3 separate regions of the Homo sapiens genome follow, and regions 2 and 3 are each linked to region 1. Evidence: promoter capture Hi-C in 16 types of primary human blood cells and fetal thymus (Javierre and others, 2016). All regions are on one chromosome and are shown on one strand. The core of a region is centred on a gene start or on the middle of the fragment in contact, and the rest is flanking DNA. Distances in the headings are between cores, read along the strand shown. Region 1 holds the start of SLC67A1 (solute carrier family 67 member 1). Region 2 overlaps CD81-AS1 (CD81 antisense RNA 1). Region 3 overlaps CD81-AS1 (CD81 antisense RNA 1).

Evidence for each region. Contacts are between HindIII fragments. The CHiCAGO score rates a contact against its expected background, and 5 or more counts as called.
Region 2: a contact is called between a fragment that was not itself captured here and the fragment with the promoter of SLC67A1 in region 1, in 3 of 17 cell types (M0 macrophages, naive B cells and non-activated CD4 T cells). The highest score is 6.9, in M0 macrophages.
Region 3: a fragment that was not itself captured here is called in contact with the fragment with the promoter of SLC67A1 in region 1 in 2 of 17 cell types (total B cells and naive B cells); the score reaches 5.8 in total B cells.

The regions. Positions count from the first base shown.
Region 1 is chr11:2,900,959-2,903,813 of GRCh38, forward strand. SLC67A1 (solute carrier family 67 member 1) reads left to right here and starts at 1,320. Exons shown (of 11, transcript NM_002555.6): 1 at 1,320-1,406; 2 at 2,256-2,531. The coding sequence starts at 2,388. SLC67A1-AS (SLC67A1 antisense RNA) reads right to left here and starts at 2,617. Exons shown (of 3, transcript NR_169305.1): 1 at 2,501-2,617; 2 at 1,626-1,751. RefSeq lists a silencer at 1,452-1,581 and an enhancer at 2,507-2,855. The HindIII fragment of the contact is 10,715 bases long and covers 1-2,855 here.
Region 2 is chr11:2,365,563-2,368,394 of GRCh38, forward strand. The region is part of intron 1 of CD81-AS1 (CD81 antisense RNA 1); the gene reads right to left. Among named protein-coding and RNA genes, the nearest start is that of CD81, 10 kb to the right of the region's middle. The HindIII fragment of the contact is 225 bases long and covers 1,214-1,438 here.
Region 3 is chr11:2,328,649-2,331,511 of GRCh38, forward strand. CD81-AS1 (CD81 antisense RNA 1) reads right to left here. Exons shown (of 3, transcript NR_108080.1): 2 at 915-1,126; 3 at 101-655. Among named protein-coding and RNA genes, the nearest start is that of TSPAN32, 28 kb to the left of the region's middle. RefSeq lists an enhancer at 1-432. The HindIII fragment of the contact is 2,399 bases long and covers 251-2,649 here.

The DNA of each region.
Region 1 (2,855 bases), core at 70-2,569:
ATTTATGGCCAGCTTCTAAACACAAAGGTGGAGGGAAAGTTAGAGCAATATTTTTAGGTTTGATGTCTGGCTGTGTGGAAAGGCGGGGTTCTGATTTCTATGACCTGCCCTGGGGAAAATGGATTCCAGTTTCTAAGGCCAGCTTCGGGGAAAATGGCACTGAGAGACAGGAGAGCAAGAGAAGGTCAGAGAAACACTTTTTCTTCCGAAGCTGCTTCTGAGGCCTTCATTTTGGGGTATTGTTTTCTGATGCCCAACATATCTGAGCTGCTGAACGAAGGGTAGCTGCTGAACCACTCCCACGGTGACTTGGAATGGCTTAGCCAGCCGGCCTTGGGCCACCTGGCTCTGGCCCCCCTGCCCACCAGGACTTTGGCCGGCTCTCGCTCGCCTCTGCGATGTCCGTCCCACCCTGTCTCACCCCTGCAGTTTTCTGCTCTGTGGAGCGATGATTGACACATGGCAGGGGGACACTGGTTTTGACATTTGAGCCTGTGCCCAGCCCTTGCCTGGGGAGGAGGTGGGGCAGGAGTCCTGAATGAGCATCTCCCTACTTAGTGACAGTCAGGGGCACGGAGAATGGTGCCCAGGCCAAGGGCAGGGCTTGGGCCAAGTGTGCGCAGCGTGGGGTGTGTGTGCTCCAGCGGCTCCTGCTGCGGAGGGCGGCATGAGGCTTGTTTACCTGTGTGCTGGCATCTCTGGTGGCCCCTGCAAGGGTGGGGAAGTGGCAGGCAGGGTGAAATGGGGAAAAGTGGGCTCTCAACTGCTCCTAGCAGCCTCCGGGTCTGGGGAGGGAAGTGAGGAGGGGCCCAGAGCTGTCTCCTGGTCACTCTTCTGGGGCTCTGTGCAGACCTTTGGCAGGGCCAGGCTACACCACACCCTCTACAACCTCCCCTGACTTCTTCCCCTAACCCCTCACCACCATTCCTCCGCTTTTCTCTCCCCGCCCCTGCCTCCCCTCCATTCTCTCCTTCCCTCCACCTCCCGGTCCCATCCCCTGCCCACACTGCCCCTCCTCAGGCCCAAAGTGGACACCGGTGCTGCCTGAGGGTCAGAGTGTCCACCTCCAGCAGCCCGGGCACCGGGCAGGATTCAAGCTGGAGGGGGCTGGGGCGGGCGAAGCCGGGCACGGGGCGAGCCCGCTGGTGGGCGGGGCAGGGGCGGGTCCTTCGAGGGGAGGGGCGGGCTCGGCCAGTGAGAGCGCAGAAACCGTGGCACGGGCGCTCCCGGAACTGGCGATTGCAAAGCGCGAGGGCTGGAACTCAGACCCAGAGGGGCGGTCCCTGTTGCAAGTCATCTCCCGAAAGGGCGGGGCCGGGGCTCATCCCGGAAGGACCGGTGTCTAGGTCACCCTGGAGCGCTCACCCCACCGGCACCCGTGCCCAAGCCCGCCCCTGCAAAGGCAGGTACTCGAGCACACTCCGGAGAGGGCGGCCTCTGAGCCCCGAACCCCGAACTCCGGCGCAGCGTCGCACCTCTGCCCAATGAGGTGCCCCTGACGTGCCTGCTGCGGCTGCCCTGCTCCCCCCAGCCTCCCTGCATCCCGGGATGGGGGAGGGCGCCAGGCGCAGCTCCCGGACCCTCAGGGGTCTCCCCGCCCTACCCCACCAGCCTGGGTTCGGTACCTCGGGGCTCAGATGTGCAGTCAGCTGTTAATGTGGCAAAATTTGGGGAAGTCCTCTGCAGCCGCAAAATCCAGTTCCCACCAGTTGGAGGCCGGGCGGGGAAGGGTGGGGACAGACAGCACTCCGCTGTGGGAGGTAAGGCAGAGCTACTGGGGAGCCTGGAAGGCTGAGCTATGTCTCCCCTACGCAAGACCATTCCAGAAGCCCCTTGGAGCTCTGGCTGCTGGCCACAGGGGAAGGTAGACCTTCCCTGAGAGCTGCACTGTGTTGGGGACAGGGCCACTGTGGGCCTACGGAGGGCCTCCAGGCACAGGGACCCACATCAGCCCTCTGGCCACAGAAGGCGCTGATGATTTGAGGTGGACTCAGCCACCACTCCGAGCCTCTGCCTCCCTCTAAAAGTGGGGCATGGCACATTCCTGTGTCAGGCAACCAGGCACTGAGCCTGGCCCACCTGCAGGGGTCGGGGGGAGCAGCTTGTCCCTGTCTCCCCTCCCCGGGAGGCTGTGTGCCTGGAGACCAGAGCTGTCAAAAGTGGAGGAGGGGGACCCCCTGATGTGTCCTCTAAGGTCCAGGTAGCAGGAGAGCTCCACTGGGGAGGGGGTCCTGCAGTGCTGTCCTCTCTTGCAGGCAAGGCCAGGCGGGTGCTGCCTGGGACCCAGTGACTCAGCACCCCTGCCCGGATCAACTGGACTTTTGCCCCCTGCTCCGCCAGCCTCCTGCTTGGATCTCTCCTGGGTCTCCCTGCTGCGCCTGTCCAGGATGCAGGGAGCTCGGGCTCCCAGGGACCAGGGCCGGTCCCCCGGCAGGATGAGCGCTCTAGGCCGGTCCTCGGTCATCTTGCTTACCTACGTGCTGGCCGCCACAGAACTTACCTGCCTCTTCATGCAGTTCTCCATCGTGCCAGTGAGTAACACACCCCAGCCCCTGCAGCCCCAGCCAGGGCTGAACCGCTGTTCCTCCTGCCCTCCATCTGGGCCGTCGCAGAGAGTGGGGGTGGGGGTTTCATGCTGCCAGGGCCCCTCCCAGTTGGGACTCATGCCACGCTTAAGCTGAGTAAGTTAAGGACTCTGCCTCTGGACCCCCGTCAGCACATCCTGTGCTCCAGCTTCAGTGCCAGCCCCGGGAGAAGCCATGGGGAGCCACCCCACTTCCCTCCTGGGGGCAGCACCTCCTCAAACCTTCCTAGCGCTGTTCCTCCTGCCTCTCACCCGGCAGCCTTTGCCCTCT
Region 2 (2,832 bases), core at 76-2,575, 540 kb before region 1:
CAGCAGCCCCCTCAACCCGCACACACTGCACATTGAGGGGAGGGCCGGGAGACTGGAAGGAAACATCAGAGTCTGGAGAAGACCACCAGGATCACCAGGGCTATGCTCTCACCCGGCACCCAGCACCGAGGGGCTCATGGGAAACAAGACGGGTCTCTCGGTGCACGAGTGCTGGGCACACATAGTCCACCGTGCATCCTGGGCTGATGATCTGGACCCTGGTCCTGTGCAGCCCTGGGGTGGGGCTCCAGGCTGAGATCAGCCACGTCTGGGGGAGGAGACAGTGTTCCCAGTCTCACCTTGCCCCACGGACTCTGACAGGGGTTGAAGAAGCAAGGAGGCTCCAAGGACTGGGGAGGGGGAGTCTGGCCGACGATCTAGGAGCATCAAGGCGCCTGCTCCCTCTCGGCGTGGCCCGGTCCTGTAGGTGGTCAGTTATGCAATGCCACTGCCTTCCTACCTCACAAGGAGGGTGGGTGGACTCAGAAGCCAGGCCCAGGCTTCCTTCTTGGCTCAGGCAAGGAACATAGGGGGCTTTGAGCTTTGCTTATTCATTTAACAACTGAACCCCTAGTCTGTGCCAGGCCCCCATTTAAATGGTCCCTGGGATACAGCAGGGTCCAGAATGGGCCCAGACCCTGCCCCCATAGCTGACCTTCTGGAGAGCCTGAGGAGTGAGGGGTGCCCTCCAGGCACGGCAGACGGGGCAGGCTCTGCATTCGGGGGCTCCAGCTGCTTTCCCACCACCCACCCACTCCACCCGAGCCCTTCTGGGTCAGCTGGGCTCCTGGCTCTGCCCGCCTGGGGTGCAAGACGCCAAGTTCCTTCCTGGACAGTGAGAGAACCATGCCAAAAAGAAATGAAAGGAAGGCAGACGGCGAGATGAGGGAGAGGGTGGGCACCCAGCCAGGGACCGCAGAGACGAGGAGGAGGCACAGAGACCCACTGTCCCCAGCCACTGCCAGTGAGGCTGGCCCAGGGCCAGGGGCTGGGCGTCCCTGGCATGCATGTGGCTCCCAGTGCCCCCACGTCCAACAGGAGTGGGGCGGCCCCCTCTTCTGCCACATCCCCATCCCACCTCCCATTCCATTCACTGGTCTCATTTTTAAGTTTTTCTCTCCCAGTTATTCAGGATTGATTTGGAGAGCAGAGCGATGGCTGCAGGTGGCTCTTCATTTTCCTTCACCTAAGAAGCAAACCATCATCCACCCCAAGCTTGTCTCTCCAGCCTGCCCCCTACATGAGGACAACCTCCCTCCTCTTCCACGGTGGCGCTGTTCCCACTGGAGGCCCAGGCTTGGCCATCCGTTCATTCTTGGAGTCCTCAAGAGATTGTCAGCTCTGCAGTGGGGAGCAGCCGCTGTCAAAGACCCTGGAACTTCCTCCCTGCTGCGTCCACCAACCCCCACTGCCCGCTGGGCACTCCCAACCTGAAACAAGCTTGCTCGCTGCAAAAGCCTCACCTCTGACCCAACTTCCCACTCCCAGGATACCCAACCTGGCCTTCCCTCTGGATACCCCTGTGGGCTCCCCTCTGCTGATGGGTTCCCCTCTCCAGCTGTGGCTTCCCTCTGCTGATGGGGTCCCCTCTCCAGCTGGGGCTCCCTCCACTGATGGGGTTCCCTCTACAGCTGTGGCTCTCTCCACTGATGGGGTCCCCTCTCCAGCTGGGGCTCCCTCCACTGATGTGGTCCCCTCTTCAGCTTGGGCTCCCTCCACTGATGGGGTCCCCTCTTCAGCTGGGGCTCCTCTCCACTGACAGGGTCTCCTTTCCATCTGGGGCTCCCTTGGCTGATGAAGTCCCTTCTCCAGGTGAGGCTGCTCTCTGCTGACAGGGTCCCCTCTCCAGCTAGGTCTCCTCTCTGTTGATAGGGTCCCCTCTCCGGGTGGGCTCCCCTCTGCTGACGGGGTCCTCTGATGGGGTCCCTACTCCAGGGGGGCTCCCCTCCATAGATGAGCTCCCCTTCCTGGGTTGGGTGACCCCTCCGCCCTATCTGTGTCTGCAGGTTGGGGCTAGGCAGTGCTGGCCAGCATCTGACAACCTCCCCTTTCTGTTCTTGGGCACTGCTCACTTATTCAGGTCTCAGCCAGGCAGCCCCTCCAATGGTAATCTTCAGAGTCCCCTTCAGCAACACAGCTTCCCCTCTGTGGCCCAGCTCATGCTGAAGTAAACAAGGCAATGTCATTAACGGCTGGTATCAGCTTGTACGGGGAACCAGTGGCCCCAGAAGCCTCTGGGGAGGCCCAGGCTGTGAGGATCAGGGGTCCGGAAGAGCCTCTAGAGCGGGAGAAAGAGGCCTCAGGGGTCCCTCCTCACAGGGGATGGTGACAACACGGTAGGGAATGGAGGGGTCAGGGCTGGGTCCAGGACACGGTGACCCTGGCCAGAAAAGGCCGGGCCTGGCTGGCACCCGCACGAAGGGAACGGAGCCAGTGTGGAAAAGCAGGCCCGCGTCCTCTTCTGCACTCCCAGCCCCTTTAAACTACACACAGCTTGTAGGAAGGGGATCAGAGGCCCCTGGGCGTCCCATGGCTATGCTGCACCTGGGGACATGAAGCCTAGGGTAGCTCAGCCAGCTCTGGTCACGGCTGACAGACAGCCTCACCCCAACAGCCTCACCCATCCCTCCTCAGGGAACAGGGTCCTAACAAGCTGCTTTCCCCATCCCAGTGTTGAACAAAAACTCATGGGTTTAGACAAGAGTGAAGGTGACTCCTCCACCACCCATCCCACCTCCAGCAGGCAGCCACCCCCAAAATTATTGATTTATTAATAAATCAATGACAGGTGCCAGCCAGCCCCACCTGTCCCCAACCTGCAAATGCAGACAG
Region 3 (2,863 bases), core at 200-2,699, 570 kb before region 1:
CACCTCTCACTACCGTTGCGTTGGGGACTTTTCAACATGAATTTTGGAGGGACACAAATATTCAGACCACAGTAAGCCATGACTAATGCACACAGAAAACTGAAGTTTCAGGATGTATTTGCTCTCATTCCTCTCCATCAACTCAATGGCAGCTGTCAGAAGGCTCTCAGACTTGAATGGGCCTTAATCCCATCTTTGTCTTCTGTTGATCGGTCCAAGTCAGGCATTTTATTGGGCCTTTGTCTCCCAAAGCTTGTTAAAATCCTAACTCTTGGAGCAGTTGGTTTTTCTGCCCTTGCGGTGCTCTGAATTTCTGGATCCATCTCTCTGTTCACTTTCATCTCTGCTTGTAAGCTGGGCCTTCTTTCTCAAGCTGGTCTCCGTCTCGTGTTGCGGGACCTAACACAAAACTCGCAATGTGGTGTTTTCCCACTTCGCCCCTTATGCTCCTGGCTGAGCCTTCTTGTATTCAGCCTGCCAGGTCACCAGGAGTGATTTTAGCAAGTTTGCTGCTCCAGCTCCACCAAGTCCCCATCACTCGGGCCCCCGGTGCCTGCTCTCTTGGCAGCAGCTGGGTTTGGGGGTTCCGACTGCTACCACAATACAGCCTGGCCTGTCCTGACTAATACAGAAGCAGGCTCTGTGAAGGAGGGTGCTGCCATAAGAAGAAACGCAAATTAACACGTATCTACACAGTCTCCGTGGTGCACAACAGTCAGCTTTTCCTGCTTATGTGTCTGGGCTCTGCTTGACTGATCTTGGCTGGGTGCATTCCCAAGACAGCAAGTCGTGGCTGGCCTCGGGCACAGGAAAGGGCGAGAGACTGGGGTCACAGATACAATCTAGCATAGGGGGACAGATAACTCAATGTTTAAATTCATAGGGTGCTGGACCAAGAGAGGGCATATCCAAACCTGATGTGCTCATCCATCGGAGATGCTGGGTCTGGAGAGGGTGTAGTGACTGGGTGGACTTTGGCAGGTCAACAGAGGGGTGGATGGCGGAACAGACGATACCATGTGTTCACCACACTGTTTCTTCCTCCTAGGCAAATGGAAAGACTGCATTTCCCAGTCACCTCTATGGTTAGTGTGGTTGCATGAGGGTCATGTGACCGAGTTCTGACCTGTGGGATATGGGAGGAAGCAACGTAAGCTACTTCCCAATCGCCCTTCCCTTTCCAAGGTGACCTTACAGGACACACGTTCCCAAAGTCAGCTCAAAGATGAAGAGTCACTTGACCACCATATGCAAGTGAAAAATAACCCCGAGACCTCAGGGGGTATTTGTTAACTGCAACGTAGCCTACTTTCAAAGCATGGTTCCTGGACCAGCTGCATCACCCGGGAATGCGGTAGAAATGCAGATTCTCAGGCCCTGCCCAGGCCTCCCAAATTAAGGATGCTGGGGTGGAGCCTAGCAATCTGCGTCTAAAAAGCTCTCCAGGGCAATCTGAAGGCTGTTCCTGGCCAGGCACAGTGGCTCATGTCTGTAATCCCAGCACTTTGGGATTACTTGAGAGGACCTTCTTGCCGTGTCCTCACATGGCAGAAAATGAAAGGGCACACAGGGGGATCGAGGCGGGTGGATCACTTGAAGTCAGGAGTTGGAGACAAGCCTGGCCAACATGATGAAACCCCATCTCTATTAAAAATACAAAAATTAGCCAGGTGTGGTGGTGCATGCCTATAGTCCTAGCTACTCAGGAGGCCGAGGCAGGAGAATTGCTTGAACCCAGGAGGTGGAGGTTGCAGTGAGCCGAGATCGTACCACTACGCTCCCGCCTGGGCGACAGAGCCAGATTCCATCTCAAAATAAATAAATAAATAAAGGCTGTTCCAACTATATAGGAGTTCAGGATACTGGCAAGGGTGTGATTAAAGTGAAGGACCAGGTGTTCCCAGCTGTGCAGGCAAAGAAGTGCAGTGAGGAAAGCATGCAGTACGGCTGCGTAGAGCACTCCCAGCAAAGCAGGTGGGCAAAGCAAACACACAGGGCCTGGAGGTGTGGAAGGGGTGCAAGGTTTGGACTTTAAATCTCAGAGAGGAAGCAACCCAAAATTAAAGAGACCCCAGGGATGGTGATGGGCACAGTGGGGCAGATGAAGTTCACTGGACAGGGGAGGTCAGGGGCCTAGGGGCCGTGGTGTGGGGTTGCTTGTCCCAGCTGGGATGGACACAGGAATTGGGCTGGAGAAGATGTACATGAGGTGGTCTTGTCTAAACCCTGCACATCCAGCTCCAAGCATGCAGGTAAATTCCCCCGGAACCAACTCCCATGCCAACGTCAGACTCGAACAAGTCCAAGGATGCTGAGTAACAGTCAGGGTTCTCCAGAGAAACCGAGTCAGTAAGATGTGTACATACACACAGAGAGAGATTATTGTAAGGACTTGGCTCACACAATTACAGAGGCTGAGCAGTCCCAAGATCCGTAGTTGGGAACCTTGGAGACCCAGGAGGACTGATGGTGTAAGCTCCCGTCTGAAAGGCAGCAGGCTCAAGACCCAAGGAGAGCCAATGTTTCAGTTTGAGTTTGAAGACAGGAAAAAACCAATGTCCCAGCTCACCCAGGTAAGAGGACTTCCCTCTTATTTGTCACGCGCCTCTGTGTGAAGAGACCACCAAATAGGTTTTGTGTGAGCAATGAAGCTTTTTAATCACCTGGGTGCAGGCAGACTGGGTCCAAAAAAGGAGTCAGCAAAGGGAGATAGGGGTGGGGCAGTTTTATAGGATTTGGGTAGGTAGTGGAAAATTACAGTTAAAGGGGGTTTTTCTTTTGTGGGCAGGGGCGGGGGGGTTACAAAGTGCTCGGTGGGGACCTTCTGATACTCATTGACCAGGAGAAGGAATTTCACAAGGTC